Linked DNA regions of Homo sapiens: region 2 is linked to region 1. The links are contacts of gene promoters, found by promoter capture Hi-C in blood cells and fetal thymus (Javierre and others, 2016). All regions are on one chromosome and are shown on one strand. The core of a region is centred on a gene start or on the middle of the fragment in contact, and the rest is flanking DNA. Distances in the headings are between cores, read along the strand shown. Region 1 holds the start of YIF1B (Yip1 interacting factor homolog B, membrane trafficking protein). Region 2 overlaps MRPS12 (mitochondrial ribosomal protein S12).

The links. Contacts are between HindIII fragments. The CHiCAGO score rates a contact against its expected background, and 5 or more counts as called.
Region 2: a contact is called between a fragment that was not itself captured here and the fragment with the promoter of YIF1B in region 1, in 1 of 17 cell types (neutrophils). The highest score is 5.6, in neutrophils.

The regions. Positions count from the first base shown.
Region 1 is chr19:38,314,334-38,317,582 of GRCh38, forward strand. YIF1B (Yip1 interacting factor homolog B, membrane trafficking protein) reads right to left here and starts at 1,614. Exons shown (of 8, transcript NM_001039672.3): 1 at 1,527-1,614. The coding sequence starts at 1,584. RefSeq lists a silencer at 1,449-1,938. The HindIII fragment of the contact is 4,086 bases long and covers 954-3,249 here.
Region 2 is chr19:38,932,336-38,935,601 of GRCh38, forward strand. MRPS12 (mitochondrial ribosomal protein S12) reads left to right here. Exons shown (of 3, transcript NM_033362.4): 3 at 1-833. The coding sequence ends at 365. It overlaps LOC124904713 (a long non-coding RNA gene), which reads right to left. Exons shown (of 2, transcript XR_007067253.1): 2 at 2,488-3,266. Among named protein-coding and RNA genes, the nearest start is that of MRPS12, 3.0 kb to the left of the region's middle. The HindIII fragment of the contact is 303 bases long and covers 1,157-1,459 here.

The sequences.
Region 1 (3,249 bases), core at 364-2,863:
ACAGGCGCACACCACCACGCCCAGCTAAATTTTCTATTTTTAGTAGAGATGGGGTCTCACCATGTTGGCCAGGCTGGTCTCGAACTCCTGACCTCGTGATCCTCCCACCTCGGCCTCCCAAAATCCTGGGATTATAGGTGTGAACCACTGCGCCCAACCTAATTTTTTTGCATTTTTAGTAGAGATGGGGTTTCATCATGTTGGCCAGGCTGGTTGGCTGGGCACCGTGACTCATGCCTGTGATCCCAGCACTTTGGGAGGCCAAGGCAGGTGGATCACCCTCTTTTTTTTTTTTTTTTTTTTTTTTTGAGGCGAAGTCTTGCTCTGTCGCCCAGGCTGGTGCAATCTCGCCTCAGTGCAACCTCTGCCTCCTGGGTTCAAGTGATTCTCAAGCCTCAGACTCCCAAGTAGCCGGGATTACAGGTGCTCGCCACCACACCCGGCTAATTTTGTGTACTTTTATTAGAGATAGGATTTTGCTGTTACCCAAGCTGGTCTCCAACTCCTGGCCCCAAGTGATTCGCCCACCTCGACCTCCCAAAGTGCTGAGATTATAGGTGTAGGCCAGCACGCCCAGCCTGCCCTCTCACTACAAATCTCCTTCTCCTGGGTAACTTTTCATGATCAGAATTATCCTCTTCCATGCCGGGTGCGGTGGCTCACGCCTGTAATCCCAGCACTTTGGGAGGCCTAGGCGGGCGGATCACCTGAGGTCGGGAGTTTGAGACCAGCTTGACCAACATGGAGAAACCCCGTCTATACCACCCCGGGCGTGGTGGCCTGCGCCTGTAATCCCAGCTACTTGGGAGGCTGAGGCAGGAGAATCGCTTGAACCCGGGAGGCGGAGGTTGCGGTGACCTGAGATCGCGCCATTGCACTCCAGCCTTGGCAACAAGAACAAAACTAGGTCTCAAAAAAAAAAAAAAAAGAAAAAGAAGTATCCTCTTCCAGGAAGCTTCACTGACACCCCTAGGCTGGGTCATGTGCCTCCTCAGGGCTCCCACAACATCTCCATCCCAACACAGGGCCTGACACATGGGAGTTGAGACAAGTTAGGTTGAATGAATAAATGAAACACACAGCACACTCACGGAGATGAAGAGACAGGAAAAGGGGGCCAACAGCACAATACAGGTTCGCTTCTTAAATGAGCGGTAGGCATGGCCCTCTGCGCTCCCGGGGGGCCACGAAGCTGTCCTAAGGGTGTGGGCGACAGCAGGCGGGTACTGGGGAGCCACGGAAGGGTGGGGAGCAGGGAAGGGCGGATCGCTAACTGCAAATGAATGAAAGTTGCATTTCTCTGCATATCGCACGCTATCCAGTCCCAAGTTGTTTTCTTCTAAAGGAATTTCCTAAAGAATCGCCCCCCAAGGGGCCTCCTACCCGAACCTGGCATCCCAGCGCTGTGCACACCTCAGGGTTCCAGATCCTTGATCTCGTGACCTCTGACCTGCAGTGACCTCGCCAACCGACGCGGCCGCCCCGCCACGCCCCCGCCCGCCCGATCTCCTCCGCCGGCCACGTACGCCACTTACGCAGCCGGGGCGTCCCCGCAGCCGCCGCCGCCAAGCCTGCCGGGTGCATCCTTCGCCGCCGCCACCTAAGCCGCGGTTCGGAGCGTGCCCGCCCGGCTCCCGTACCCACGCCCCGCCGGCGAAGAGACAGCCAATGGACGTCAGGATTGAGGGAAGGCCTCGCCCCCACCCCCCCGACCCCTCCAGCCCCCCCCTTCACGGAGGCCTGGACGACTGGGCGGTGCCTTACGTAAGAGGCGGAGACTGGGCTACTGGGCTCATGCAGTAAAGCGAGTCAAGGCCTGAGTGGCAGGAGGGCGAGGCCGGGACCAATCCCAGGAGGAGGCGGTGTCTGCCACGACAGAAAATGAGTGTCTGCCCCTTGCCGGGGCTCACGCCCCTAACTCCAGCACTTTGGGAGGCCGAGGCGGGAGGATTGCTTCAGCCCAGGGATTCGAGACTAGCCTGAGCAACATAGTGACCCTCGCCCCGCCCCATCCCTACAATTTTTTTTTTTTTTAATTTAGCCAGGCTCAGTGGCTTAACGCCTGTAATCTCAGCACTTTGGAAGGCTGAGGATCGCTTGAGCCCAGGAGTTCGAGACCAGCCTGGGCAACAGCGAGATCTCCATCGCTACAAAACATTTTTTAAAATGTAAATATCGAGCGAAAAGGTCGATGGGAAATGCAGTTCTCTGCAGACAGCCGTTCAGTTTGGGTCATTGAGAGCACTGGAGAGCCAGAAAAGGCTGTGGAGCAAGGAAAAGAGAAACATTTGTGTTCCTGAGGGGCTAATTGGAGTTGTAGGGGCTTATACAATTTTTGACATCCCTTAGGTATTAAAGTAAATATTTATTTATTTTGAGACAGGGTCTTCCTCTGTTTTCCAGGCTGCCTCGGACCCCCTGAGCTCAAGTGATCCTCCTGCCTCAGCCTCCCCAGTAACTGGCACCACAGGCATGCACCACCATGCCCAGCTAATTTTTAAATTTTTTGTCAAAACAGGATCTTGCTATGTTGCCCAGGCTGGTCTCGAATTCCTGGGCTCAAGCCATCCTCCTGCTTCAGCCTCCTAAAGCATTAGGATTACAGACATGAGCCACAGTGCCCGGCCTTAAAGTGAATATTTAGAGTGAGAAAAGGAAACCCAACAAGTTAGGTGAGAAGAACCAGGTGTCTCTCTTGGAATAGATCTTAAGGCAGTTTCCCAGAAATTCATAAAAATGTTCTCACATTGCAACCTGGTTCCCTCTGTCCACCAAAAGCATTCTACAACCCCCAGCAACTCACAGCACACAGGCGCACCTGCAAGTGAAGAGCCCTGCCCACCTAGCGTCCTTAGTCTCTCCTCTCTCTGACTCTCAGTCTCCCCCCTTCTCTCCCTCTCAGACTCCCCGACTTATCTCAGGAAAACATAGTGGTGGAAGTTACTTCTGCGCAGCGATAGCGCATCCGGAAGGATGTCAGCAAGTGACCCTATCGCTGTGGCTTCCTCTTCCTCCTCTGAGACGTTGTCTTTTTGGAGACCTTAAGGGCTGCTCCTGGTTTCTCAGTGATGAGTGCTGGCTCCACTGTGGTTCCTTTTTGTGAGCGAAATGCCCGCATTCTTCTTCACCTCTGATTTAGCCTCTGTCCCCTGGGCTCCAACACCATTTTCTCCTCATCCTCAGCCCTCTCTTGCTCTGGTTGCTCCAGATACATCTCTTCCATAAATGTTTTTTTTTTTCTTATTGCTT
Region 2 (3,266 bases), core at 58-2,557, 620 kb after region 1:
CAGCTCTGGTTCCCCGGCTCTGGGCTACCTGCTCCATGGCTACCCTGAACCAGATGCACCGCCTGGGGCCCCCCAAGCGGCCGCCTCGGAAGCTGGGCCCCACGGAAGGCCGGCCGCAGCTGAAGGGTGTGGTCCTGTGCACGTTTACCCGCAAGCCGAAGAAGCCCAACTCAGCCAATCGCAAGTGCTGTCGAGTGCGGCTCAGCACTGGCCGCGAGGCCGTCTGCTTCATCCCTGGGGAGGGCCACACCCTGCAGGAGCACCAGATTGTCCTTGTGGAGGGCGGCCGCACCCAGGACCTGCCAGGCGTCAAGCTCACCGTTGTGCGTGGCAAGTACGACTGTGGCCACGTGCAGAAGAAGTGACGGCTGGGGGCACAGTGGGCTGGGCGCCCCTGCAGAACATGAACCTTCCGCTCCTGGCTGCCACAGGGTCCTCCGATGCTGGCCTTTGCGCCTCTAGAGGCAGCCACTCATGGATTCAAGTCCTGGCTCCGCCTCTTCCATCAGGACCACTATTAAGCCATAGGAGTCCTGGGGGTGCAAAGGGTGCCCCTCTGTCAACACCCTTGGCTCCTGTGTTTAGAGGGGTGGCCTGAAGGACCTTTTCTGCTGGGACAAGACACTGTACTGCCCTCTGCTGGGAAGGGGTTTTAATAAACAGACCCTGGCGCTTGTGATGTAAATCCCCTTGTGGAGTATTTGCCCTCTGTGTGGCTGTGGCAGTGGACATCTCTGAGCTTCAGTTTCCTCCAGAAAATAGCTCCATTGGTGGTATCTCCTTTGTTTGGTTTGGTGAAGATTAAATTCGATGCTCTATGTGCATAACACGCACGGAGGGCTCTTTTTTTTTTTTTTAGACAAAGTCTCACTCTGTTGCCCAGGCTGGAGTGCAGTGGCCTGATCTCAGCTCACTGCAACCTCTGCCCCCCGGGTTCATATGATTCTCCTGCCTCAGCCTCCCGAGTAGCTGGGATTGTAGGCACACACCACCAGGCCTGGCTAATTTTTGTATTTTTAGTAGAGACAGCGTTTCACCATGTTGGCCAGGCTGGTCTCAAACTCCTGAGCTCGGGTGATCTGCCCACCTTGGCCTCCCAAAGTGCTGGGATTACAGGCGTGAGCCACCACGCCTGGCAGAGGGCTACTGTATTTTAAGCTTAGGAGTCAGGTAGGTGGCACAGAGGCCCAGGTCTTCTTCCTGCAGGCCATGGGTTCTGGGCACATAAACTCTGCCCTCAAGCATGGACAGCTGGAAAATGGCAGTAATTGTAATGTTGATGTGGAAGGGGTGTGGAAAGGATTCAATGGGGTGTGCTGCTCCACACCCGGGAGCTGTTCTTTTATTTTATACGTGTGTGTGTGTGTGTGTGTGTGTGTGTGTGTTTGTGTGTGTTTGTGTAGAGAGAGAGACAGAGTCTCACTGTGTTGTCCAGGCTGGAGTGCGGTTCTATGATCAAAGCTTACTTCAGCCTTGACCTCCTGAGCTCAATAGATCCTCCCGCCTCAGCCTCCTGAGTAGTCAGGACCACAGGTGTGTGCCACCACACCTGGCTAACTTTTCCATTTTTTTAGAGTGGGAATCTGGCTTTGTTGTCCAGGCTGGTCTCGAACTCTTGGCCTCAAGAGATCCTTCCACCTTGGCCTCCTAAAATGCTGGATTATAGGTGTGAGCCACTATTATATTATATAATAATATAAAATTATTACTGGGTTCACCTGAGCTCAAATTCTGCTCCCCGTCATAATTGCTATGAGACCTGGCTATGTTGGTTCCCCCTATGGGCCTCGGTTTCCTCCCTTGGAAAATGGCACTGATGATAATGCTGACTGCACCTGATCATGTTTTTGGCCATGTAAGATTTAAGAAGTGGGGCCAGGTGCAGTGGCTCATGCCTGTAATCTCAACACTTTGGGAGGCCGAGGTGGGCCGACCACTTGAGGTCAGGAGTTTGAGACCAGCCTGGCCAACATGGTGAAACCCTGTCTCTACTAAAAATACAAAAATTACCCGGGCATGGTGGCATGTGCCTATAATCTCAGCTACTCAGGAGGCTGAGGCAGGAGACTTGCTTGAACCTGGGAGGTGGAGGTTGCAGTGAGCTGAGATCAGCACCACTGCACTGCAGCCTGGGTGACAGAGTGAGACTCTGTCTCAAAAAAAGAAAAAAGAAAAAACAATGTTGGAACTGTGTTTATATCATTGGGCTCTGGAGCCCAGCACTGCTCCAAGCCCTGCCTCCCCTACTTACTGGCTGGGTGACCTTGGGCAGGTTGTTTACACTCTGAGCCTGGACCAAATGGCGCTGATAAGGGTGCATGCTTGAGAGCTGTTTGGAGCATCATAGCTGTCTCCGAGTTCCTCTTGACGCTCAACACACAGCCTCCTGAGGGTCTCCTGATTGTAAACATGAGGCCACAAGGTCTTTTAGGATCAGAGCTGGTGGCAGATAAGTGCACTGATTACAGATAAAAATTGCCCATCCCCTCATATTTGGCACCAGTTTTATTGAGCTAGTTTGTTGGCCATGCCTAGCTGAGAAATAGAGAAGTGGAGGGAGATGGGGGGATGGGAGAGCTTTTCCTCATGGCACACTCTGCTCCAGGAGTCTGTATACAGGAGTGTGGAGAAAAGGAAGTGTTACCTTGCAGGAAGTTGCCCCCAAAGCAAGGGCAGGAGGTGGGGGTGGGGGACTTGGCCTCTGATGGAATTCTGGAATTCTGATGAGAGAGGTGCTAGCCTGACCTGAACAGGAGATGCTGACAGGCAGTGCTGGGCATGTTGCACAGAGATGGCTGGTTACACAGCCCCGTGGCAGGATCCCAGAGTGCCGAGACCAGCTGGGTCGTGGAGACCCTAACCCAGTGGCGCTAGAGGAATTAAAGACACACACCCAGAAATACAGGGTGTGGAGTGGGAAATCAGGGGTCTCACAGCCTTCAGAGCTGAGAGCCTCGAACAGAGATTTACACACATATTTATTGACAGCAAGCCAGTGATAAGCATTATTTCTATAGATTATAGATTAACTAAAAGCATTTCTTATGGGAAATAAAGGGATGTGCCAAAATAAACGGATGGGCTCTGGCTAGTTATCTGCAGCAGGAACATGTCCTTAAGGCACAGATCGCTCATGCTATTGTTTGTGGTACAGGAACCCCTTTAAGCCGTTTTCCATCCTGGGTGAGCCAGGTGTTCCTTGCCCTCATTCCAGTAAACCCACGACCTTCAGGGTGGGGGTCATGGCCATCATGAACATGTCACAG